Regions from separate parts of the Homo sapiens genome. Here all the other regions are linked to region 7. The links are contacts of gene promoters, found by promoter capture Hi-C in blood cells and fetal thymus (Javierre and others, 2016). All regions are on one chromosome and are shown on one strand. Each heading gives the region's core, a stretch centred on a gene start or on the middle of the fragment in contact. The rest is flanking DNA. Distances are from core to core; before and after follow the strand shown. Region 1 has its middle 23 kb from the start of PRKACB. Region 2 has its middle 41 kb from the start of PRKACB. Region 3 overlaps MCOLN2 (mucolipin TRP cation channel 2). Region 4 has its middle 21 kb from the start of LPAR3. Region 5 has its middle 62 kb from the start of PRKACB. Region 6 overlaps PRKACB (protein kinase cAMP-activated catalytic subunit beta). Region 7 holds the start of SPATA1 (spermatogenesis associated 1).

What was found. The method cuts DNA at HindIII sites, captures the fragments that hold promoters and counts their contacts. A CHiCAGO score of 5 or more calls a contact.
Region 1: a fragment that was not itself captured here is called in contact with the fragment with the promoter of SPATA1 in region 7 in 2 of 17 cell types (erythroblasts and M2 macrophages); the score reaches 5.5 in erythroblasts.
Region 2: a contact is called between a fragment that was not itself captured here and the fragment with the promoter of SPATA1 in region 7, in 1 of 17 cell types (erythroblasts). The highest score is 8.9, in erythroblasts.
Region 3: a contact is called between a fragment that was not itself captured here and the fragment with the promoter of SPATA1 in region 7, in 6 of 17 cell types (M0 macrophages, M2 macrophages, M1 macrophages and 3 more). The highest score is 7.9, in M0 macrophages.
Region 4: a contact is called between a fragment that was not itself captured here and the fragment with the promoter of SPATA1 in region 7, in 1 of 17 cell types (M2 macrophages). The highest score is 6.1, in M2 macrophages.
Region 5: a contact is called between a fragment that was not itself captured here and the fragment with the promoter of SPATA1 in region 7, in 1 of 17 cell types (naive B cells). The highest score is 5.5, in naive B cells.
Region 6: a fragment that was not itself captured here is called in contact with the fragment with the promoter of SPATA1 in region 7 in 6 of 17 cell types (erythroblasts, total CD8 T cells, monocytes and 3 more); the score reaches 7.5 in erythroblasts.

The regions. Positions count from the first base shown.
Region 1 is chr1:84,119,196-84,122,936 of GRCh38, reverse strand. It overlaps a transcript of PRKACB not described here. Among named protein-coding and RNA genes, the nearest start is that of PRKACB, 23 kb to the left of the region's middle. RefSeq lists an enhancer at 1-22. The HindIII fragment of the contact is 5,287 bases long and covers 1-3,741 here.
Region 2 is chr1:84,101,018-84,104,818 of GRCh38, reverse strand. It overlaps a transcript of PRKACB not described here. Among named protein-coding and RNA genes, the nearest start is that of PRKACB, 41 kb to the left of the region's middle. The HindIII fragment of the contact is 3,291 bases long and covers 273-3,563 here.
Region 3 is chr1:84,936,219-84,939,833 of GRCh38, reverse strand. MCOLN2 (mucolipin TRP cation channel 2) reads left to right here. Exons shown (of 14, transcript NM_153259.4): 9 at 132-281; 10 at 1,752-1,853; 11 at 1,957-2,079. Among named protein-coding and RNA genes, the nearest start is that of LPAR3, 45 kb to the right of the region's middle. The HindIII fragment of the contact is 2,900 bases long and covers 505-3,404 here.
Region 4 is chr1:84,912,208-84,916,225 of GRCh38, reverse strand. No RefSeq gene overlaps it. Among named protein-coding and RNA genes, the nearest start is that of LPAR3, 21 kb to the right of the region's middle. The HindIII fragment of the contact is 462 bases long and covers 2,126-2,587 here.
Region 5 is chr1:84,080,973-84,084,467 of GRCh38, reverse strand. It overlaps a transcript of PRKACB not described here. Among named protein-coding and RNA genes, the nearest start is that of PRKACB, 62 kb to the left of the region's middle. The HindIII fragment of the contact is 3,580 bases long and covers 1-3,326 here.
Region 6 is chr1:84,161,137-84,164,672 of GRCh38, reverse strand. All of the region lies in intron 1 of PRKACB (protein kinase cAMP-activated catalytic subunit beta), which reads right to left. Among named protein-coding and RNA genes, the nearest start is that of PRKACB, 19 kb to the right of the region's middle. The HindIII fragment of the contact is 3,718 bases long and covers 107-3,536 here.
Region 7 is chr1:84,504,775-84,508,647 of GRCh38, reverse strand. SPATA1 (spermatogenesis associated 1) reads right to left here and starts at 2,262. Exons shown (of 14, transcript NM_001397487.1): 1 at 2,230-2,262. It overlaps GNG5 (G protein subunit gamma 5), which reads left to right and starts at 2,067. Exons shown (of 4, transcript NM_005274.3): 1 at 2,067-2,212; 2 at 2,347-2,637. The coding sequence starts at 2,557. RefSeq lists silencers at 2,342-2,421, 2,672-2,801. The HindIII fragment of the contact is 7,618 bases long and covers 1-3,684 here.

The DNA of each region.
Region 1 (3,741 bases), core at 444-2,943, 390 kb after region 7:
TGTCATTACCTTAAATTTTAGCAATATAAGATAAACACAAGTTTAGGTTATTATACAAATAAAAGTGTAATGTACCAGAAATATGCAATAACATTATTTTATTTATACAAATCAAACTATAAAATTCTCACATAAACTACCATATCAGAAACTAATATCCATTTTCCCTCTCATAAATCTATTTATACAACCCATGAAAAAATTAAGTCTTCCAAAGATCCCCCATATAATTCCAAAACGTCCTTTTAATTCACTAACAATTTAATGGAAAAATACTAGTAAACGTCACATTACATTTAATTTGGTAAGTTCAATCATAATTACTATATAATGGCAAGGTAAAATCTTTTATAAAATCTCATATAACTTTTAAGAAAACAGTTGTTCTTATATTGAGCTGGTTTAATGCAATTTAGACACTATGACTTAATATATGGCAGATTAGCCATATGATTCTTCTATTACATTTGACTGTTTACAATGGATCTGTTTATCTCTGCATTCCTGGTACCTATCACAGGACTTAGAACACATAAACCCTCAACTGAGAAACATTTGCTCAATTGAGTATAAGATTTCAAAGAGAAAACTGAAGGCCAAAAGCAATTAAGCAGACAGCTAAAACACCAATTTGTCTTAACATGGTTATTTTTATTTTTCTATCAGGTGACCAGCCTTCCCAAATGAAAAATAAAACCACCCACAGAAACTAGATTTTAAAGCCAGATCTGCCAACATTAGCCAATTTACATCAGAGGGAGAGGCTGAAGAGTGCTGGAGAGAATTGTTTTGGAGCAGTTATGAGGTATGCAACACATTCAGGGCAGGAGGTCACCCTTACCTCAAATCAACTGAGGGGCTTCAAGGAAACCACTCAGAGACTTAACATGTACCCTATCTGCTAGGATTTATAAGAGTTAGGGACTGTTTTGGGGGGACTCACCAAATGTACAAAATGTAAAGGTACTAAATGGTAGATAAAACCACCTCTGCTCAGTGGCAGAGTGAAAAGAATTATGTTGAGAGGGGGCTCAACTTGGAATAGCAGGGAAAATACATTTATGTCCTATAGACCCCAGAAAAGAGAGTGTGTGCAAGGGAATCATAAATTGCCAGCCAGAGGAGAGGGCTTCTCTCACAAAGAGAACTGAAATCTGAGGGCCACAGCAGGTTTACTGTGAAGCTAACAGAGATTAAATTTCAGGACCTCTCAAGTGCAGGCAACCCTTCTAATACCCTGGGAGAGATTCTAGCATTGTGTTCACAAGGACACATGCTTTTGTAAGACTTGCAAAAGTAAGATATTTTAATAGCAATTGGTTGAGATTGCTGTCTCTTTTCTCTCCAACTTCCCCTTCTTCACACTTTCCATTATGTCAGGTGCTAATGGAGTGGCACCAGGCATTTTAGAGATCTGAATAAGGGAAAGTTTAGGGGTAATGTACAGTTTTAGCTACGATTGGCAAGAAGTTTGGGGATTTTTCAATTAAAAAGTTAAAAATGACAGACTTGTGATTTGAATGTGTACATATATATGTATATGAATATATATGTATAATACATGAATGTATATGAGGAGTACCTCCTTTTTCATCTTCAAATTTATGTATTAAAAAAACAAGATAAATTTAGAAGAAACATAATGAAATATGAAAGAGATTATAAAGAGGAGACATAAAATCAATAAAAATGTTCCTATATAGAAAAGTGAATTCAAGTTATTTTTTGTAACAAATACACTAAATCATGAAAAAAGGAAAAATTCCAAATAAAAATAATGAATAGGCATGTTGTTTCATAATGTAATTAATCAAGAGAATATGAACATGTTAGAAAAGATGTTTAAGTCTCTTGGCAATTGACACAAAATAGTAACAATAACAAAGATACATAAAACTCGTGATAGCTAGTACAAGAACATTAAAGACAAACTATTAGTGATTATTGTTACTTCAAAAATTACCTAAGATCAAGATTTGAAAAGTCTTGAAATCTTGTAGCTCATACACAAAAGAAACTTCTCAGGGACCATTACCTGGTGTTTCTTCAACCATAAAAAACAAGTATCTGGGAACCAGAAGGTGGAGGTGGGAGTGGTAGATATCACCACCCTATTTCACTGAATCTATGACTATCAATTATAAAAATCACCATTATATCATGTACCACTAAGAAAAAAAAGAAAAATGTACAGCAATTAAACTATGAGATACTTTGTCAGTTATAAATTTTTTCCCTATTAAGAGAGAACTATTTTTGATTTATTTAGACATAACTTTTTAATATCACTCTTGTAAACATATGAAGTGAAAAAAATTTTAAACTTGTTAAGAAATTCCTAAAATGCTTTCATATTCATAGTCTGACTCTTCCAGACTATTTTTTGATGCACAGTCATTATTGTGTGTTTTTACACAATTATTGTTCTTTATATCAAAAATATTGATACAGTATTTTTTGAGGCGCTCTACTACCATCTCCTATATTTTCTTCCAACCTGCTGATACGCATTTTCATGTTTGTGCATGTATAGACAATAACAAGCACATCACAAGAATTGCCTGACTGATGTCATCATTTTAGGAAGCATCCTAATTTCGAATACACTAAAATGTGAGACAAAAGTATGTATGTCAAAATTAATGAACTATAGTATGATAAGTTACCCATTTGAAAATTTTCTACTTCTTGTCTCTGTAACTTTGGACTCTTTAACAGTTGAGACATTTTAATACCCTTGGAAGTACTCTTCAAGAAATATGAATTTAGAAGTACTCTTCAAGTATGGGGAGTACCTGTAACAATTAATCCCTTGAACCAGAAGTTTAGAGTGCCAGCTGGGCATTCTGGTCACATTTCACTGAAAAATACAGGCCGAAAAGGAAAGTTACTTCTGTTTGAGTGATTAATCCTGGTTATTACTGAGACATAAAGTTGTGTTATAGATGGAGGTGGGGTACTTTCTTGTAATTTGCATATTGAGTATAAAAACAGAGAAGACTTCAGTATTCCAATATAGGAAACACTACCAAGGTCTCAATGATTCAAGAATGATGGTCTAAACTACTACCCTGAAAAAGAATCCCTTCTACACTTATATGCTGCAGTGGGAAATTTATAGCAACTTTCAAACAGAACAAGGACTATAGCAGCTACTCATAAATGCCACCTTGCTATGCTATATGTGTGCCTATGTATGTGTGTACATATAAACACATCAATTTCCTTCTTGCCTTTCCCCAGGAATTTTACATAAGGCGTGGTCATTAACTTTATAATTTAGTACTAGGGCTGTGGAAAGTCAAGGTGATATTATGGCTAAATGATATGAGTGAATATCATCTAGAAATTGATATACGGGCTGATGGATTTTTAGATCTCTCTTTTTGGGTAGAAGTTGAGTGTTTTCATTTATATGAAGGACAGTAGCATTAAGTTAGCTGTAGAATAGTGTAATTGCCATTCTTTGAAAGCATCAGTAGAAGGGTATAAATAGGTGATGAACAGCCAAAAGAGTGGACCATGCTGGATATTGTAAATTGGTTCATTCAATGTCCCTTCCATTCTCCTTCTTTAATAGTTGGACAGGTTGGAAAGCTATAAAATATATTTCCTGGACTCCTTGTTCTTAAAGTTTTGGATAAAAATAAAGTTCTCCCCACTAGATGCTCTTCTATGATATTTGAATATGTATTTCTGATGACAAGCATGGTCATGGAAATAAGGTTTCTCAGAAGTATT
Region 2 (3,801 bases), core at 669-3,168, 400 kb after region 7:
GGTTCCAGAGGGCTCTCTGGAAAGGACTGGGACATAGGCAGTTTGACATGTGATTAAAAGCATTGGTTCTACATACAAATGGCCACAGGTATATGAAAAAATGCTCAACATCACTAATCATGAGGGAGATGCAAATGAAAGCCATCTCACCTCGGTTTGAATGACTATTGTTAAAAAGACAATAGTCTTTTTGGATGCAGAGAAAGGGAACTCTCATATACTTTTAGTGAGAATGTAAATTAGTACAGCCATTATGGAACAGTATGGAAGCTTCCTCAAAAAACTAAAAATAGAAGATATAATCCAGCAATCCCAATGCTGGCTATTAATGCAAACGGAAGGAAATCAGTATATTGAAGAGACATCTGCACCCCATGTTTATTGCAGCACTATTCACAATAATCAAGATATGGAATCAACCTAAACATCTATCAACAGATTAACAGAAAAAGAAAGTGTATATATATGTATATAAACAATGACCTACTATTTAGACATAACAAAGAATGAAATCCTGTTATTTGTGGCAACATGGATGAGCCTAGAGGATGTTATGTTAAGTGAAATCAGTCAGGTACAGAAAGAAAAATACCATATGTTCTCACCCATATGAGGGAGCTTTTAAAAGTGGAGCTCATACAAGTAGATAGGAGAATTGTGGTTATTAAAAGTTGGGAAGAGAATTAGATAATTGTGGGTTACTACAGATTAGAGAGAGGTTAACTGATAAAAAATCACAGCTAGATAGGAAAAGTAAGGTCTAGTGCTCCATAGCACTGTATGGTGACTATAATTTACAATAATTTACTGTACATTTTCAAGTACAAGAGAGGATTTAAATGTTCCTAACACAAAGAAATGATAAATGTTTATGGTAAGGAAATACTAATTACCCTGATTTGATCATTACACATTACATATGTATCAAAATATTACTCTGTATCCTATAAATATGTACAATTATTATGTGTCAACTAAAAATAAAAGGGAAGGGGAGAACACTAGTTCTTACTGGCTCTGTGAGGTTGGGCAGGTGATAGAATTTTTCTACTTGTGTTTCAGTTATCTGTGTTATGTAACAAACTTAGTTTTCAAACAATCACCATATTTTGCTCACAATTTTCTGGGTCAAGAATTTGGGCAACACACAGTAGGAACTGTTCATCTCTATACCACAATGTCTGGGGTCTAAGCTGGGTGGCTCAACAGCTGCGAGAAGCTGGAACAGCCCAAATGAGGTCATAGGTCTGCTGGCTCACTTCACACTGTTTGCTGAGTCACTCTCTCATCTGTCTTCAGCTGAAGGCTGGGCTGACTAAAAGGCCCATGAAATAATTCACCTTATCTAGTGCTACCAATCTCTCTCTTTCTTTCTCTACCCCCCACCCCCACACCCCATCTCTCTGTCTCTTTCTCTCTAAGTGGCTAGTTGGGCTTTGAACAGCATGTTGGTCTCAGAATAGTCAGACTTCTTGCATAGCAGTTCGCTTAAAAGAGGACAGAGCCTCAACCCTGTAACGGATCTAGCATCACATCCACCATATTATACTGGTTAAAGCAATGAGAAACCCAGCCCAGATTCAGTGGAATGAAGAAATATGCTATGCTTCTAGATGAAAAGGGTGGTTAAGAATTTGTAGCCATCTTCACTTTGTCACAGAATACTCCTCCATTTTCAAAATATACTTTACTCCTTCCAAGACCCCAAGAAGCCTTATCCTAAGGTCCAGGATGTAATCTAAATCAAATGCAGGTATAGATGAGGCCTCTCAGATCCAGTTTCCTGAGTGCAACTCCTCATACTTAGTTTCTCTTAATCTAAAGACTTGTGAACTAAAGAGACAAGTTATCTGCCCAATACACGATGGTGAGATAGGAATAGAAATTGCAATGGATACTCCCATTCAAAAAGAGGGAAAACAAGAGGTATAAACACTCCCTCATCAATAGCAATTCTAAAGTCCAGTTGGGCACATGTCACTCATTCCTTGATTAGTCCTGAGAGTAGTTCTCCTTGTCTCTTAGCTGTACTCTCTGGCTTCTTGGCTGCCCTCTCTCAATCATTCTTTCACATGAAATGGCCTATGTGAAGAGGTGAGTAGCTTTTCAGCCTGCTTCCTTTCCACAGTAGGTGAGGGCCCGTACACTTTTTTCCTTATTAATTATCTCTGACCCTTTCAATCAACATTAATACAATTTCTTTTAAAACTCTGTGGGTTTCTCATATTATCAAATTCTAATATATTCCAAGAGACAAAAAGCCACATCCACATTCCCTTTGGAGAGGGCTTTCTCTACCTTGGGCCTCACATAAGACTGCTATGGGACAAGTCCTTAAGATTTCTAAAAACCCCAACTGTCTAATTTAGAGTAACGTGAGCCACACACAAGATTCTCTTTTTGCATTTTTGTTTTCATTTTTTATTTTTTTTGAGATGGAGTCTCGCTCTGTCGCCTAGGCTGGAGTGCAGTGGCGCAATCTCGGTTGACTACAACCTCCGCCTCCCAGATTCAAGCGATTCTCCTACCTTAGCCTCCCAAGCAGCTGGGACTACAGGTGCCCAACACCACGCCCAGCTAATTTTTGTAGTTTTGTATTTTTTTTTTTTTTTAGTAGAGATGGGGTTTCACCACATTGGCCAGGCTGGTCTTGAACTCCTGACCTCGTGATCTGCCCACCTCGGCCTCCCAAAGTGCTGGGATTACAGGCACACACAAAATTTTTATAAGCCTTTCAGTCTAAATAAAGGTCTGTGAGACATCACTTTAAATTATCTGAGGTCATAGCAAAGGGTCTTACAGTATTTTTTAAAAGGTAGTTATTTTACTTGTTAAGAAAATTTTTAAGTCATGAGATAGTAATAAATAATTATCATAAAAATATAACTGCAGGCAGCTTTGAGGCCCTCCTTCTTGAACACAGGAATCTAGAGAATTCTCTAAATCTTTATTAAATAATAATTATCTCATTTATTATGTAAATCACTGCTCCCTGTATTTAGATAGATTAAATTCCTGTTACAATTTGGCACTAGGAAAGTGGCTTTATACTGTATCCTCACCATGTAGTGCTAAATTTTATGCTCAAATACAGTAACTAGCTTCAACATCGGTTTATTGGTTCAACCATCTTCTTGCCTTTGATTTCAAGGCTCTTGTATTTATAATTTTGCTTTAAAGGTTATATATGCCTTCTATTGAAAAACACCTGAAATCTTTTTTGGCTGTGGTAATGGGAGATGAGGAGGTGATAAGAATGAGTAATAAATGTAAGTTAAAAAGAAAGTAGGAAGTTCCATTTCTGGCTTGGGAAAATGAACCACCAACCCCCAAACCTGTCAGGGCTTAAGGAAAAAATATGCCTACAGGACATTTTTATGTGTCAACTTGGCTAGGGTATAGTCGTTAGTTATTCAACACTGATCTAGGTGTTGCTGTGAAGGTATTTTGTAGATGTGACTAAAGTCCACAGTCAGTTTACTTCAAGTAAAGGAGATTACCATAGATAATTTGGGTGGATCTGACTCAATCAGTTGAAAGCCCTTAAGAGCAGAACTGAAGCTTCCCAGAAGAAGAAACTCAGCCTGTAAAGTACAGCTTCAGCCTGTGATTGAGAGGTCCAGCTTGCCCTTCATTGCAGATTGCCCTATAGATTTTAGACTTACCTAGCCAGCCACCACAATCAATAAGTCAATTTCTTGCAATATATCTCTTCCGATATATCCTACTGGTTCTGTTTCTCTGGTGTAACTCTGACTGGCACATAGCCTTACAGCGTAATGAGTTTCTTATCATTGAAAA
Region 3 (3,615 bases), core at 705-3,204, 430 kb before region 7:
GAGGTGGATCTGGCAAATTGGAAAGGCAATGCCATGTCCTTTTACAGGTGAGAGCACTGTTTTGCACTTGCCTTCTTCTTCCAGAGGGCAGTGTGGTTTGTAAGAAACGCTTCTTTAAATGTTTGCCATAGAGATTTCTAAATTTCTTCCTGGAGAAGTACAAGCGGCCTGTGTGTGACACCGACCAGTGGGAGTTCATCAACGGCTGGTATGTCCTGGTGATTATCAGCGACCTAATGACAATCATTGGCTCCATATTAAAAATGGAAATCAAAGCAAAGGTGAGGGAAGCCCATTTAAAGTCTCTGTTCTTCATCTTCTCCTGGATGGCCACAGGCATCTTAAGACGTACCATCCTTTGGAGACCACTTTGATTCTCGTGTCTTCCCTTTTCTCACACCAGCACAAGTGAGGCCTCCCCTGGCTTGGTTCCTCGTGAAGGGAAAGGAAGCCGATGTTCCATGGAACGAAACTTGGCAACAGCTCCAGAATAGTGACTAAGCTTGAAAAGATTGGTTATTTGGGCCTCATTTTTCTTTTTAAGTTGCCAAAGGAGCAGCTTATCCATAAACCAGTCCCTTCCCTGAACCTGCATGTCAAGAGCTTGTGGGGAGGATCTGTGACCATTGGGTGCTCCGACGGATGGGGTGAGGGCAGGAATGTCAGACTGCCCGCTAAAGCCTGACCCTTTGTATAACTTAGTTGATTTGATCTCCTAACTAAGCCTCAACTCCTCCTTCACCGCACTATTCTCCCGTCCATTCTCTGCTGTTGGTCAGAGGTCCCTCCAGCCACACCTCCTAACCCTGACATGCCTAATTCTCTCCCATCCCGGCTCCCTCTGGCTTTCTTCAGGCTTCTTCCTTTCTGGCCAACTGTGACAGCAGCCTCCTCACCAGCTTTCCCGTCTTCTACTTCATACCCCTGAGATCCATTCACACAGCTGTCAGAGGGACTTTTCTGGAAGTGTCTATCCAGCTGTTACCATCCTTTCTACCTCTTGGGGCCTACTTTGGGATGAAGTGGCCTCCCTCAGCAGCATGGCCCCTGGGGTCATCATCATCCAGCTCTGCCTCTTGCTCCTGCCCCTGCTCTGACCCTGCCCCTCTAGGACGTCTTGTCAGCATTGTGCCTTTGTTCAGCTTTTGTCCACTTACCTGTGGTGCTTCCTCCCAGCCTGTCCTGCAGGCCTGTCTTTGCTCTGGGGTCGTGTCTGTGGTGTCCCTCTGTGATGAGCTAGGCATTGTGTCTTTCACTGCATTTAGCGTATTATATGAGAATCATGTTTGTGTGTTTGTCTTTTCAACTAGCCCTAGAATTTCCTCAGAGCTGCAGCTGTGTTAGGAAATCATGCTGGAGTTTTCTTTCAAAAGCAGCTGAATTGTATTGTTTGGTACTTAACAAACACCATTAATTTGTATCCTCGAATGCCTAGGTCAGTGATAAATGCAATTTCTATTTGAGAGTATTATTTGGAAAAAAATTTAGTTCAACCTAAATACAATTTCTATTTCAGAGTATTATTTGGAAAAAAATTTAGTTCAACCAATTGAAATACTAAAAGAAAATGAGAAACACAAATATTTGGAATTATATCTGTTTTTCTTCTTTTTTTTCTTCAAAAAAAAACTCTATCACCTATAGGGAGGCAGATAGTTCTTTTTTTATTAATTGGTTTAATGTAAGGCTAATAAGCTAAGTGGAGTCAAATATTTTACTCATTTCTCTCTTTCTTTTTTTTCATTCCTTAGAATCTCACAAACTATGATCTCTGCAGCATTTTTCTTGGAACCTCTACGCTCTTGGTTTGGGTTGGAGTCATCAGATACCTGGGTTATTTCCAGGCATATAATGTAAGGATGCGGCACCGGGTAGTGCCACTGCAGTTGAGACTCATTTATTCTTTGGGTTCTAATAGCTACTTTTTCATTTCACCCATTCTGTTCTTTTTTTCAGGTGCTGATTTTAACAATGCAGGCCTCACTGCCAAAAGTTCTTCGGTTTTGTGCTTGTGCTGGTATGATTTATCTGGGTTACACATTCTGTGGCTGGATTGTCTTAGGACCATACCATGACAAGGTGTGTAGCTCACATTCTTCCTTCTGCAGATGGGGCACGTGGGACCCTTGAACGTGGGTTTCTAGCACTTACTTGCTTCCTGGTCTTCTCTAGCATGTACCCTTGACATCAGTAATCACATATCTTTGTATCAGTTTTCTTTTTCTTTTTTTCCTTTTCAGGATATAGAAGTGACTACAGGATATTGAAACAAGAACTGTACAATACTAGAAAGCATGTATTATAGTTGTCTGGGACTGGCTTAAGGGGTCACATGGTTACCCGGTGATCATCAAATGGGAAATGTTTGGACGTGAGATCACTATATTAAAAATGAAAATTAAGTGAGGAAAATTATTATAAAAAATTTCCAATTTAAAGTATTATGTTTTTCATCCAAGTTAATTGAGAAGAATGAAGATGGGCAGAGACTGCCTAAAACGACCATAGTAGGTTTACGATAGAAATGGTGACACGTCTTGTCTCTGCAGACGGTTTTGATTACAGCATCATCTTTCTGCCTTATTAAAGATCAGTATCTGAATTCTAAACTATTACCAAACTTCAGTTAGCATTATAATCTCAGGGACATCAAAGTTGTGCTAAGATGTTCTTGTTATAAAATGATACATTTGATTGGTAGATGCATCAGGAAATGAAACTAGGTAAGCCTTGGTTTTAACCCAAAAAAGTAAAAGGAGTTATTTTATCTTATGGCTTTTCCTCCATTTGGGCCTGTGGCAGTTGGAACAACAGAAACAACAAAAATAGCAGCAGCTAACACTTACTGCTTGTGTGTTAGACACTCTGCTGGGCATTTCGGTGTTCTTTCTTATTTACTCCCCACAACAACCCAGGGTACTGTTAGCCTCACTTAGGTGCTCTGCAAGGAGAAAAGAGGTTAAAAATGGTAAGTATTCCTTCCAAGTTTGTATACCAGTTCAGCCTTAAGTTTTGACCTTGTTAGTTGCATTAACCAAATCTGTGATCAAATCTGGTTTACAAACTGTTATACATGAATCTTAAACCTCCGTGCTGTCCTACCAGAATAATGTCGAGTAACCTGGAACACTCAGACTTTCTTCTTTTTAGGTGTCACATTTAATATGTCTAGAGAGAATTACTGTTTTTCCTATTTGAGATATTATATAATTAACAAAGTGACAACCTCTGGGTTGGTAGTAAATCTTGATAATATTGCTCTTCATACTCCATGTCACTGCTTTAAAGGTGACTCATGAGAAAAAATTATTCTTTGATATGATCTCTCTGATTTGGAGAACTTACTGTCTTAGAGCCTGGAAAAATGTATTTTTCTTCCTTGCTTGCCTCATGCTCTGAAAGCTTTTCCACCTCTTTGTCACTAGAGGGCAGTGTTGCACTGTGTGGAATAAATACCGTTCCTGAGGATTCGGCTTTAATTCACTGACTCCAAGGTCTGTGGACAAGTGGTCCCATCTCCTTTGCACCCCATCCCCGTCTCCCCTACCTCATCATTATTCTGGAAGGTGCTCAGATAAGATTGCTAGAATTTTACTAGATGGCTACCATTCTCAA
Region 4 (4,018 bases), core at 1,107-3,606, 410 kb before region 7:
GGGGATATCAACATTGTCCAAAGTCATTTCTGAACAATGAGCCACAAAGTCCTGGTTTGATCTCTGGGGAAAATGCATTTCAACCTCAAGCCAGAATAACATAAAGACTGCTTCCTGTATCTTATCCCTTGACAGCCAAGTTTCTTGAACAGCTTTTAAGGAACCATAGTAACAGTTGGAGGAAGGGGTGAGTGGATCAGTGATGATCCTTCTACTAGACTTTTATCTCCCTTGCATAAATGGCCCCATGGTCCACCTGGAAAAGGTAAGTGTAAGGAGAAGAGATGGCAGAGGCAGATAGGGTTTTAACCTAGGTGATGGGCAGATAAGTTTGGAGGTGGGGAGTTAACAGGCAACGACATGACTCCACCCTCCTCCCACTTTTCTCCAGGATGAGGGAGGTTCTGACCTTTAGCCTTTACGCAAAATACTCTTGTCAAAGTTTCCACATTTATGTGATTGAGACAAGAGCCAACATTTATTATCCTACATTAAAACTGAAGCAACTAAATGGGATAAAACTCACAGATATATATTTCTTCCCCATTGGCCTTTTCAAAAATGGCAATCAATTTTCACAGCAGGCAGCTTAGAAGGTCAAGTTATTGGGACAAAAATGGGTAAAAGCCAACTGAAACAGTAACATCAACCAGTGTCATCCACATAACTATTCAGCACCTTATGACCATGTAGCCAAATAAATTCTGGATAGATTACAGATTTAAATGTGAAAAATTAAGCCTATAAAAGGACTAGGAAAAAATACAAATAAATATTGATGTGATTTCAGAAGTCAAGAAGGACTTTCTGAGTTTAAAGCTGCACAGGCTGGACATGGTGGCTCATGCCTGTAATCCCAGCACTTTGGGAGGCTGAGGCAGGTGGATCACCTGAGGTCAAGAGTTCGAGACCAGCCTGGCCAACATGGCGAAACCCTGTCTCTACTAAAAATACAAAAAAGTTAGCTGGGCATGATGGCGGGAGCCTATAATCCCAGATACTCGGGACGGTGAGGCAGGAGAATTGCATGAACCAGGGAGGCAGAGGTTGCAGTGAGCCGAGATCTCTCCACTGCACTCCAGCCTGGGGGATGGGGGAGACTCCATCTCCAAAAAAAAAAAAAAAAAAAAAGCTGCACAAAACCATAAAATAACCAAATATATTTTATTATATAAAAACAAAACATTTTAGAAAAGTAAGAACGTAAACACAATTTAAAAAGCACATTGAGAGGCTGGGTATAGTATTTCATGCCTGTAATCCTAGCACTTTGGGAGGCTGAGGCAGGAGGATCACTTGAACTCATGAGTTCGAGACCACCCTGGGCGAGATGGTGAGGCCCCTTCTCTACAAAAAATAAAATAGAAATTAGCCAGGCATTGTGGCCCACACCTGTAATCTCAGCTACTGAGAACTGTGACCGTGCCACTGAACTCCAGCCTGGGTGACAGGGTGAGATTTCGTCTCTTAAAATAAATACATACATACAACCAAAAAGCACACCAAGGAAAAAACCATTGCAGCATATATGGCTGGCTTAGTATGCTTACTGTATTACTAGGCCAAACACGGTGGCTCACGCCTGTAATCCCAGAGTTTGGGAGGCCGAGGCGGGCAGATCACGAGGTCAGGAGTTCGAGACCAGCCTGGCCAACATGGTGAAACCCCTTCTCTACTAAAAATATAACAATTAGCCGGGTGTGGTGGTGGACACCTGTAATCTCAGCTACTTGGGAGGCTGAGGCAGGAGAATTGCTTGAACCTGGGAGGTGGAGGTTGCAGTGAGCCGAGATCGTGCCACTGCACTCCAGCCTAGGTGACAGAGCAAGACTCTGTCTTGAAAAAAAGAAAAAAAGAAAGAACCGTTACTAATTCTTGGAGCCCCCTCCATAAGGACTGTTTTCTGTCTCTGTGTTTCATGTGCCTAGTAAAGTTCCTGGTGAATAGCAGGCTATCAACAAATAACATATTTTTAAAAAGCTATATTTGGTTGAATGCACACTATGTCCATCTATTGTTGCCACTCATCTCAGCAAACATACAGATTACATAACAGGATCTCCATTTTACCAAAAAGAAAATTGAACACAGAGTAAGTAGAGAACCTGGATTCAAATCCAAAGCTTCTGACTCCAAAGCCTTCTCCATTTTTCCCTTTCCGCTGCCTGCCTTCCAAATGAATGCTTATTGAATAGAATTGAATGGCAGAAAAAAATGTTTAGCCTACTTAATGAGAAATGTGACTTCTATTTTCAAACAACACCTTGTTAAGCAACATTCCTTGAACTCAAATAATGCTGGTGTTCAATGGAAAATAATTTTTACCTTGGTGGGGGAGTCGAAAGCCCCATAGAAGTTCCCAGCTCTAACACTAAATTGCTTAGTGATTTAGACAAGTTGTTAAGCTGCTCCAAGTCTCAGAATCCTTATCTGTAATACAGGGATAATAAAACTGAGAGTGCAGAAAGGTTACGTAATTTGTCCAAGGTTACACAGTAGTAACCGCCTGAGTGGGCAGCTTGTCTTTACAGCTGGGTAGTTCACAAGGCTGATGTAATATCTAGGAGTAAATGAACGTGAACAAGCTTTGAAAAGGATAAACTGGACACATTGGGTGAATGGAGAGAAAACTTAAAGTAATAAGCCTGTTTTTTGTGCAAGAATTATGAAAATTAGTTTGATATGAACATCTCAAATGTCTTGGTGTGTTCTTCTTGACCTACTATCTATTTTTAAATTTCTATAGCTGAAAATATACACTAGTAGCCGATTATCCCCTCCTTTCTGCCCCCTTTACAGTAAACCAGTGTGGCAGTATTGGTTAATGAATCCAAGTCAGCTTGCCCACAATTATAATCTTATCTAACTAGCTTTTTTAAAAAAAGATAATTGCATCCACTGGGGTGGAGTTTCTGGCATGTGCAATAATGAATCACCAAATCATGATTTTTAAAAGATAGTTACCTCATAAAATCTGGACTCAGCACCTCTTTCATTTCACTGGCTAGAAGCCAAGAGAGTCCGTGTTAATAATGTGTTTTAATACCACTCATGTACTTTTCATGCCTTGATGCAGTATTTGATCATTGGTGAAATCAGCAGTTGGACATGCATCTCAATTACTGTACCTTTCAGAAGATGCCCTTCATATTCTCTCTCTGATTTACAGAATTTATTTTACTAAACTATTCAAGAGAAGATTGCATATACTATTATGAAAGGGGTATAATACAAATATTATAAGGCATAAAGGGCATAAAAGTTGCATAAATATGCAACTTCAGTGCATATTTCCTAAGAACAAGAATAATCTCTTATGTAATCACAACACAGTGTTCAAATTCAGGAACTTTAATATTGATGCAATGCTTTCATCAAATCTGCAGTCCATAATCCAGCTCATCAATTGTCCCAACAATTCTCTTTATAGCATTCTTTCCCCTCTCACACAGGATCCAATCCAGGGTCACTGTTGAATTTAGTTGTCGCACCTCTTGTTTCCTTTAATCTGGAACAGTCCCTCAGCCTTTCTTTGTCTTTCATGACTGAGATTTTGGAAGAATACTGGTCATTATTTTACGGATAGCCCCTTAATCTGGATTGGTGTTTCCTCATTATTAGATTCAGGGTATGCATTTTCGGCAGGAATACCACAGAAGCAGTGTGGTGTCATATTATATCCAGAGATCCACGCATTGGTCTGCCTCTCATTAGTGACATTTATTTTCATCCCAGTCACGGTGTTGTCCGGCTTCTCCATTGCTGTGGTGGTTATAGAAATGCACCGCCCTGATCTCCTGTTGTGAGGAGCATAATTGATACGCTGTCCTGGCTGATGCACTCAGACTCCATCTGCATGGGGACCACGCTTCCCACTGACTTCTGGCCAATGACTCTATTAGTGTCCCAATTACTTTCTTTTATTATTATTTTTTGTTTGTTTTGTATTTTCTAACTCATGTCAGCCATCTCAAGAATTCAGAATAAGGCCCGGTGCAGTGGCTCATGCCTGTAATCC
Region 5 (3,495 bases), core at 287-2,786, 420 kb after region 7:
CCCAAATTGTATCATGTTTCTCTCTTATTTCCAAGTGCACGATGGCTCCCTAGTGTCTAAAAGATAAAATTCAAACTCTCTCCATTATGTGGCCCTCTGTCCATTTCTTCAGTTTCATCTATCATTATACAATGTCCCCTCTTCCTATCACCAACCCCACATTCCATCATTTAATCATAATGGGCAACTTACTTCCTTATCCTGAATATGTTACATGGTTTCACTCCTCTGCATCTTCACTTATCAATGCTCGGTCTACTCAGAACACCCTTCCTCCTATAATCCATCTGATGAACATTTATCATTTTCAATGCTCAAGTCATGGTTCAACTCCTCTTTGAAGTCCTTTTTGAACCTCTTCCTCCCCATCCCAGTGGAAATGACCATTCTTTCCCTTGGTTCCCCAGCTGAACTTTAATGAAAGGATTTGTGGCAGGTTTCATGTGTTTGCTGACATGTCTATCTTCCCCCTTCTGGAATATGGGCACCCTGAGCAGGTACTCTGTCCTATTCAATCTTTATTCCCATAGTCTTGTGTAGAGTCTGTCACATTTTAGGAGCTCAATTATGTGTACTGAATAAAGGAATGAATGAAGCAATGAACAAAGAACTATACAGGACATTCTTGAAGGAATACATTTAAAAGTAAGATTAAATACCCAAAATGATAGTGACCTAAGCATATTTACCTTTCATAAATTTCACACTTTTCTATTTAACACAATGTTATTCACTAAGAATTTAGGATTTATTAATCTGAGGAAATTTGATCACCCACGTATACAAACATTTATCACCTAGATATAGAACTTCATAAGTTGTACTAATTTTTAAAAATTAATTTAATGGAATGTCAAAATGAATTATGGTCAACTATTAATTATCTGACAGGATCTTAATAGCTATCCTGGCTTATCTAGGACCTTCTCACGTGCTGCTTCTGTCACTCAGCCATGGCTTACTTTTCTAAGCTGGCTTTCATGCCTCTAATTATCCTGCTGCTGGCAATGAAAAAGCAACAATCTGTCTACAGCCTAAGTGAAGGACACTGAGGAGAATAAGAGGAGGAGAATAAGAAAAATGGTTCCTGAACATGAGATAATTTGATACAGTACACAATCTGCACAAACAGAATCACAGAATCATGGAACTCGATGAGATCATATGTATTTATCATCAAAATTGCATAACTGATTGCTTTGATTTTTTTGTCTTACACCCAAGAAAGACTTCCCCAGTACCTCTGCATTCTACAGAATTGGAACAAATATCTGCTACTGATTTTCCTTTGATAATTGAAAGGTGTAAAGACCTAAGTAAGGTATAAGAAATCACTATATTGCATTTAAATCTACAGAAATTTTTCAATAGAAGATATTCACTGAGATTACTAAAAATCACAAAATTTTATTTCTAGTACAGCCCCAAAAATAATTTAACTTTGTAGTTAATAAATTAAACACAAATTATTGAACTATAATAATTTGCTCACTAAGTTTATAAATGCTTATTCTGAGGAAATAAGTTAATTCTTAAATGAGAAAAAATAAATCCAGCATTCCGTTCATCTACACTCACTTGTAAGGATCCACAAATAACCAAGATGACAGAAAGATGGGTTGGCATTTCTATTAAATGCAAAAACAACTATGTTCTAAACCTGTGTTGTCCAATATACCAAACACTAATTAGCCACATGTAAGTTAAAGATTCAGTTTCTCAGTGGTACTAGTCACATTTCCAGTGCTCAACAGACATGTGGCTAGTAGCTACTACAGTGGACAGCATAGGTGGAGATCACTTCCATTATCACAGAATGTTTGACTGGACAGCGCTACTCTAATCATGGTGAAATGAGAATTTGCCAATACTTTTAAAATGGTAATACAAGTTCAAATAATAATTTTTTTTATCAACTATTGGGCAAGAAGGGAAAAGTATACATTTACAAATGGGAAAAAATAAATATAAGTACTGTAGTAATTAAGGCTTTAAGTACATAAAATTAGTTTTATGTGGTTTAATTTGAAATTCTACTATATTGAATCTGAAAAGATAATGATGATAAAAATCCAGAGAATGGTACAAGAAAAAAATAATCTTTTTCACTTAAGATTTTAATATACCAAATAAAGTCATGTTTGAAAACTGAAATGTGCTATAATTGTCTAAGCTATTCTGTGTGTCTTAGCATCGGCTATTCTATTGGATACAGAGGCTGTTCAGCAAAGTGGTTAGAATTTCAGGTTCTGAGGTTACAGTTGCCTCAACTTAAATGTTGCTTCTTGACTTACTAGCTATGCAACCTTAAGCAAGTCACTTAGGCTCTCTGAGCCTTCATTTCCTCATCCATAAATGAAGGAATAACTCAAGTGCTTTACAGTTTAAAAGAGTAAGTAAAAGTTTATACACGGAAAGCATTAGAGAACCTGGCACGTATTAGTCCTCAAAAAATGTTAGTTGTTAAGAAACTTGCATTTTTGTTGAACCTAGTCTACTGGTGGCTTTCTTTGATTAATTCCTACTGACTTTCAAATCCACAGGACAGAGAGATACTCTGGAAAACATTCAAAGATCATATGCGAACACTAGGTCACATGGTAACTTTACGACTTGCAGTCATGAAAGAATCTACATTCAAACCTCTACCAACACTTTTCACCCATGGGCCTCAACATTTTTGCAATGAATGTATAACACAAAGCCCCATAGGCAACCTGGAGGTATAGTATTTTTTTAAAATGAAATAAATAAAAACCCCTCCCAGGTTAAAAGAAGTAGCGTGTTTTTTTGGTGTGTTGGTGACTGGGGCTGGTGTAAAAGGAAGAGACTGGATAAGTAAAACAAACTTAACTGACAAGAGTTTAAAACTTCTCTGAGAATTTTATCATATTTCTAAAAGTTTATGTTTCTCTGTATTAGCTGACGTTTAAATAACTACGCCCAAATTTTAAAAGGAATATATCTTCAAGAGTAATTTTAAAAACACACACAGAGCAGTTAGGTATGTAATAGTACCAGTTATTCTTTCATTAAGTTTTGAGATACATCAATACAATTTCCTAATTCACTACAGCAGAACAACAGGTACCTAAGTTAATGTTATCTCCAAAACCTGTGGAGATGAAGATGGAATCTCACCTAGCTTTTAGGTCTTACCCCAGAAAATGTTAATTCTAATAGAGGGAAAAGGTTCAGTAGAGTACAATACAGGCACCAGATAGTTAAAGTTAACCAAGACCCTTCTAAATTATCTTTATGCCTAACTTCATTCTTCTGGAATATTTTTAGAAATAAGCTCTGGAATCACCTGCCTTTCTGAAGCTTGGTGCTAACTGAACCTGAAATCTTAACTGACTTGATATTTTTAATCAACTTTTCAAATCAAACATTTTCATACAGCAATTTTCAGAGTTCTAATTCCACTTTCCATAATGTTAGCACTTGTATTTTTGCCTTTCAGGTAACTCTTATATATACATATTTTCTTTCCCA
Region 6 (3,536 bases), core at 716-3,215, 340 kb after region 7:
GGATGTATAAGATGTTCTCAATTATATCAGCATGAGTTGTTACCACGGCAACATTAGACCAGAATTATCGGTTCACTTGTATCCAAGGCGTAGCTTTTCTAAAGCTTTAATCCACCAGACAAATAAAATACCTTTTTATTTTAGAGCCACATGATTATAAATTACCAGATTTCTTAAATTTAAGCACTAATCTACGCTTTTTACATCTTTCAAAGATATGAAAAAATTGCTGTTTTCTTCAAATACTCACACAATCCCATGTTGAACCTGGCAAGGAGCAAACAGCAGAATGATTGCACCTAAACGTCTTTCAATTACACCAGCTCTTACTGCTAGCTGTGGACCTCACTGATATTAAAATGCTGTGTGCTGTTGCTAGTGACTATTGGCGATGAATCTTATTGCCGAGATCGCTGATAGCTTTCATTTTTCATGAGCCAGAAAGCTATACTGCAGCACAAATGTTAACCATTTAAACATTCTGTGTTATGGAAGAGAATAATATTATATACATATATGTATATCTGCATTTTTAAAGGAGAATCATAGAATAACTTATTTGTAAACTTCCATTAAATTCAGCATTACAAACAGTGTCAGATGCCATCCATGTGGTATTCAAAAGAAAATAATACACAAAAAAGTTACTGGCAATTATTGCAGAAATGTAAAATTCCTCACATGAAACAGGACTAAGATGACAGATTGTATAGCAAGGTGGGCTGACTGGGTAGCATGGTGAACAGATTGTTTTGATTACCAGAGATCCAAAATTTGTACCAAAATGGTACAAAGAATCTATAGAATGGTTCCTTGTTAAGTAGAACTTCAGCACGTGAACTTGCCATTTTAACAGTTGCCATGTGAGGCAGGACTTTTGGTGATGTGGAAGTAAGTCAGGAAATCTTCCTAAGAAACAACTATGAAGCTGAACAGAATTATCAAAAACAATGATTTCATGGCTCTGGAAATCGAGCAGTCATAAACAACAAATTAAGAAACATTTATTTGTGACGAACCACTGAACTCTGCCTAAAAACAGTGGGAGTCAGAGATGTTCTTGCCTGGGGCTGCTCCCACTCCTTTATAGCTCAGTCAGGAGAGTACTTCTACCAGGGTAGGGCTGGTCATGAAAACTAGCAGCTTCACTTCTGGAAGGGGCTGACATGAGAGGGGGCTGATTTGATTTGAAGTGGAGGCCAAAAAACTCATTAGTGATATTGTCAACGAAAAAAGCAAGCTGAAAGAAATTAACAGTCTAAGGCTATGGCCTTGGTAGGGCTAAGCAACACATTGGTGGTATAGCAAGAAACATAGCATGGGGTAAATGAAGATGAGACAGACAGAGGCTACGTAAGTTCACCAGGCCACCCAGTCTGCCCACCTTGCTATGCAATCTGACTAGGAGGTAATGACAAGCACAAAGGACACGAAAGAGGGCCCAGTGGAAAGTTAAAGCTGGTACAGACTTCCGAACTGCCTAAATACTGCATGTGCTCCTCAATTTGCACACAGTTCCATCAGCACTGGCTGGTCCCAGTGTTTGAGTACAACCTCTGATCAATCATTAAATAACAATTAAGCTACAGAGACACAGGGCAATCCCTAGGAAACCAGGTTAAAAAATAAAAATTAGAATAAGAAGAAAAAACTAAGCAGAGAAATCAGTAGTCACATATCATGAGGGATACAGATTCCATAGATTAAGACAAAGGAAGTTTTTAATAAAAAAATAAACAAAACCAACCCTCAGGGAAAAAATAATCAAAACCCAGAGCTACTACCACATGTTATTTTAAAAAACACATTTTTGACAAAAACTTGTGTGATCCACAATGAGGAAAAAAAGCAGTCAATAAAAAATGTCCCTGAATGGGCCCAGGTGTAGAATTTAGCAGACAAAGGCTTTAAAGACTTTAAAATAGCTATTATACATATATGAAAATAATTAAAAGAAAATTGTGTTAAATACCTAAAGGAAAACACGACAGTAATGAACAACATATAGAAACTTTCAATATAGAAAGAAAAACTATTTAAAAATAAAAAGTGCAGATTTGAAAAGTATAATAACCAAAATTTTAAAACTCAGTATAGTAAGCCCAACAGCAGATTTAAAAGAGCAAAAGATCAAATCAGTGAACTGGAAGATAGATCAATGGAAATCATCCAGTCGGAAGAACACAGAAAAAGACAGGAGAAAAGTGGACAGAGCCTGAGAAACTTATGGGATATCAAGGGAACCAACATATATCTCATGGGAATTAGAAAAAAAGGAGAGAGACAAAGGGTGATGAAAAAACATTTGAAGGAATAATGGCTGAAAATGTCCCAATTTGATGGAAAACAGTAACCTATGGATCCAAGAAGCTCAGCCAATGCCAACTAGAATAAAACCCAAAAGATCCACACTGAGACATATCATAGTCAAATTGTTGAAAGGTAAGGAGAAAAGTCATGAAAGCAGCAAGAGAAAAATGATGAATCACGTCCAGGGGAAAAATATGATTAATGACTTCTCATTAGAAATAAGTAGGGCCAGAAGGCAGAGAAATGAAGTGCTAAAAGAAACAAGAAAGCAAACCCATCCACCAACATTTCTCTATCCAGGAAAATTATCCTCCAAAAATAAAGGTGAAATGAAAGATTCCCAGAGAAACAACGGAGGATATTTGTTGTAAGCAGAAATACCTAAGTCCTTAAAGCTGAGAGGAAATAATACTAGACAACAGCTCAAATTGACAGAAAGAAATGAAGAGCACTAAAAATGGTAAATATATAAATAAAAGGCTATATAAATACACATTTTTTCTGTTCTCTCTTAATTTCTTTAAGAGACTTAAAGTTGTATGAGGCAATAATTACAACATTATGTTGCTGGGTTTATAAAATATATAAATATATGTGAAAAAACACAAATTTGGAAAAGAAATGAAGCTATATTGGATCAAAGCAGTTCTATTCCACTAGAATTAAGTCAGTACTATCCTGAAGTAAACTATGATAAGATAAATTATAATCTTGTGTATTATAATCTCTAAAGAAATATTAAGAAAATGCCTTTTAAATTTTATTTTTAAAAATCAAAACCAAATAATTAAAACATACGTAATAGAAAAGAAGGTGGTAGAAAGGGAAAAGAGGAACAACAAAAACTATGAGACAGAAAACAGTAAAATGGAAGCTACAAATCCAACCATATCAATAGTGACATTAACTATGAATGGAAGAAACACAAATCAAAAGGCAGAAATTATCAGATTGGATAAAAATCAAGATCAAACTATATAACATCTATAAGAGACACATTTTAGATTCATAGATATAAATAGGCTAAAGTAAAAACAGGAAAACAAGATTCATCATGCAAACAGTAACCATAAGACAGCTGGAATGCCTATATCAATATTAGACAAAATAGACTTTAAGTCTAGAAAAATTATGAGACAAAAGGGACATTCATAATTATAAAAGGCCAATACATCTGAAAAATGTGACAATTAGAAATGCATATGCATTGAACAGAAGAGCCCCCA
Region 7 (3,873 bases), core at 1,013-3,512:
AGTGAACTAAAGAACTTAGGGTACTAATTAATTGAATACGGTGAAGATCTCAGGTAAATTTAAATTGACAGTGCTCTGCTGACAAAACATAAAGTGACAGATTACTTGGTGGTCTTTTCTTGGCATTTATTGCTAAAAGAATCCTCTTGGTGACAACAGGCCAGTCTTCAACCAACTGAACAGTGAGCATCTATGTCTGTACAGTTGGTAACATGTTTGAAATGTCTTAGATCATTGTGGAAGGTCAAAGAACATCTAAACAAAAGTTTAAGAGATACAGATAGTTCATAAACTATATTTACTGGTAATCACTTCAGATGCAACTGAACTTAAAGTTATCTCAATGGTTTTGTTTTTTTTTTTTTGAGACGGAGTCTCACTCTGTCGCCAGGCTGGAGTGCAGTGGTGCCATCTCGGCTCACTGCAACCTCTGCCTCCCAGGTTCAAGCGAATCTCCTGCATCAAGCCTCCTGGGCAGCTGGGACTCCTGGGTGGCGCGCACCACCACGCCCAGCTAATTTTTGTATTTTTTAGTAGAGACGGTTTCCCCACGTTGGCCAGGATGGTCTCGATCTCTTGACCTCGTGATCTGCTCGCCTCAGCCTGCTAAAGTGCTGGGATTACAGGCGTGAGCCACCATACCAGGCCTCAATGTTTTATTTTTCTTTTGTATCCTAAATAGAATCTTTAAACACACGCTACAAAAAAATAACACCTGGTGTTTGAGACAGCACTCCAGTCTGTGGTTTCCCAATGCAGCAGTTAATAAAAAAGCAACAATTTTTTTTTTTTCTGAAACTGTTTCGGCCTAAAACACTGCTTATTCCTCAACAGTCTCCCTCACAGAAGTAATTATTGGACCATATATTCCCTAAAATCTCTTCCAGCATTAACATACCACGGTTCTAAGAGTTCAGTGATATATTTTACAACTACTGTAAAACAGATCATTCTTTGAATAGATACTTGTGTTTAATCTTACAAATCTGTAAAGTATGAATGACGTTTTAGCATTATACAGTCAACAAAGCACCAAAGGTGAAATAATTACAATACCTTTTGGGAAAAGACAATATTTATTGAGATAGCTTTCACATTCTTTTTACATATAATGTCATTTCATTCCGAAAAACAACTCTACGAAGCTGTATAATTTACTTTGAAATAAGGAAATAAAGCCTCAGTAACTTAAGTGGCTTGCCCAAGAATACCGTAAGTAGCAGAGCCAGAATTCAAACCCTGGTTTTAACCCCAATCATTACATCCGTATGAATTAAGTAAAATGCTAAACTTACGATGTACATTTTTGCGAACTGATATAAACTGTTGAGTAAATAAATTAGATTTTGTTGACCAGTGCAATTACACATGCTTCCCTAATAAAAAATTTGAAATCCATTAATGATAAAATTATTAACATTAATGGAAAACATCAGCGCATTCGGAGATTGACTACCCGAAAAGAAATAGGAAACATCTGCCCTTAGTGCTGTGACATAACACACATATTTCCGTGGATGAAAGAAAGACCTACTGGCTGAGCCTATTTTGTTTGGTTAGACCCTACCCTCTCTCCTAAAAACTCCTTTGGTACTCAATTTCAAGCAGGAGGTAATAAATTACAACGGAAATACTAAAGAGCAAACTTTCCGGAAACACAAAAATAAGTTTTATTTTAAAAAGTACAATAAGCATTAATTCTCCAGAGTAAATGGGTAACCGAGCAGACAGGTGTAATCTTCAGCCAGCACCTTGGCTTCTTCACAATCTCCTTCAGAAAAACCGATTCAAGAGCTAAGAAGCCAGTAAAGTCAAACCTCGAGAAGATCCCTTCTCCAGCGAATCAGCGCCCCTGCTCCCCGCCCGCCCGGCTCCGCTGGGTACGCGACAGCGACCTCCGCGCCTGCTCTCCGCCTCGGGTCAGCGGGGCTGGGGGTTGGGGGTGGAACTGAAAATGCCTGTTGGCCAAACTCGGGTCACAGAGAGACACGCCTGTACGGGGCGGGGGTGTGCGGGTGACTCACGCCGGGTGCACAGTAGCTCCTACGCCTCACCCAGTATCTCCCCTCACTTCCCTCAACCCTTCCCACAAACTGGGAGGAAAACTGAGACCTCCTGGTCACCCGCCGCCGGGCCTTTTAGAAACTCCCACAAGCTCTGCCTTCCCTCCCTGGTCCTCTTCAGACCCCCTCTTAGTTCTTCGCGGCTAACGGTAAGCTCTCTCCTTACCTCTCCCTAATCGGCCCCTCTGGAGAGGAAAAGAAAACTTAAGAGTCGGGTCGCGCTAGCCTCCAGCAGCCGCCGCGCCCACCGACTGCTCCGCCCCTTCTCCTCCCCCTCCTCCAGGCTCGCGCTCGGGGCCGGGTGTGGAGCTGGAACAGAGGGCTGGCAAGGCGCGCATGCGCACCGAGGGTGGAGCCGCTGAGCACAGAACCGGAAACTTAGAGACAAAGTTCGGAGCCCCGCCCCCGCCGCGCGCCGCTGAGTTGTCTGGCCCCGCCGACCCACGGCCCACGACCCACCGACCCACGAATCGGCCCGGCCGTCGCGTGCACCATGTCTGGCTCCTCCAGCGTCGCCGCTATGAAGAAAGTGGTTCAACAGCTCCGGCTGGAGGCCGGACTCAACCGCGTAAAAGTGAGCGGGGGCGGGCGGCCGAGGCGGGAGGAAGGCGGCGGCGGCGGGTGGGATCCGGCGGCCCAGCTGGCGGGGGCGGGCGGGACACGCGCCGGCCCTCGCTTCCCCTGGAGAGGACGCGCGCTCAGCGGCGGCGATCGGGGAGCGGCCAGCTTTAGAGCAGGCGCCGCGTGGGTCTACGCTGTGTTTTAGGGGGACGATTAGTTCGCCCTTCCGCCCCAGGACTTTCCGAGGCGGGCTGGCCCCTGGGTTGAACCGTGGCCGACATTCCGGTCCTCCTCCGTCTCTACCTCCCTTGGCAGCCTTCTCGGCTGGTCTCACCAACAGCTGCGCCTCCGCGCGCTGTCCGCACCCTTCCTTTCCCACTTTGCCAGCCTCCTGTTTCTCATCGGACAGGGTATTTTCCGACTTTTGATTCAGAGCAGACTTTTCTCCCATTTGATCTTTCCCAAACCTACTTCCTTTAGTATTAAATTCTTACCTTCAACTTCTCTTGTCCGTTGAACACATACTTTTAAGCGAATTATTGCATAACTTAAACTGTGGATTGAATAAGCATTTTTCGAAACGATCCTGGAGTGTAAAGTTCCGGTCAGTGCCCCGTACAACCTCGAACAAAGCGTGCATTTCATACCTATGGCACAGTTTGCTCATATTTGACCTTGGGGATATCGACTGGTCCGCATGCCGGAGAAAATGATTATTGTGGGTAATTATTGGTCTTATTTTGGCGTCTGGTTAGTATTGGCCTTGTCTTGGGGTACTTTGGGAGAAAAAGCCTTTTGTCTGTGTTGATAGAATAACTTGACATTCAAGTGCTGTTCTAAGTATTTCCTGATTTTTACAGTCCTAAATGGATTGGCTTCTTTCTGGTACAATAGGTCAGGCTACATGTGAAACACTTCTGCAGTTAAAAAAAGAAACAAGAATGTAAATCATGTGCCCTGTTAAAAGCAGCCAGTTCCTAAGATGATTTGATTTTATACTCATCAGGCTAGTCTTTATTACTTGCCGAAATGTTTTGTGAACTGAGAGGGTCTCTAAGCTTTCTTAACTAGAAGTGTCAGAGACCTAGCTTACTCAGTTGTGGTCACCTCAGAAGGGAAGGGAAATTCTCATTCGTCTTGGTGCAGGATCCTCCTGAGAGAGAGTCTCCCATTTAGTTTTGTTAACTAGAAATGTCAGGGACCTAGCTTACTCAGTTGTGGTCAACTCAGAAGGGAAGGGAATTCTCAT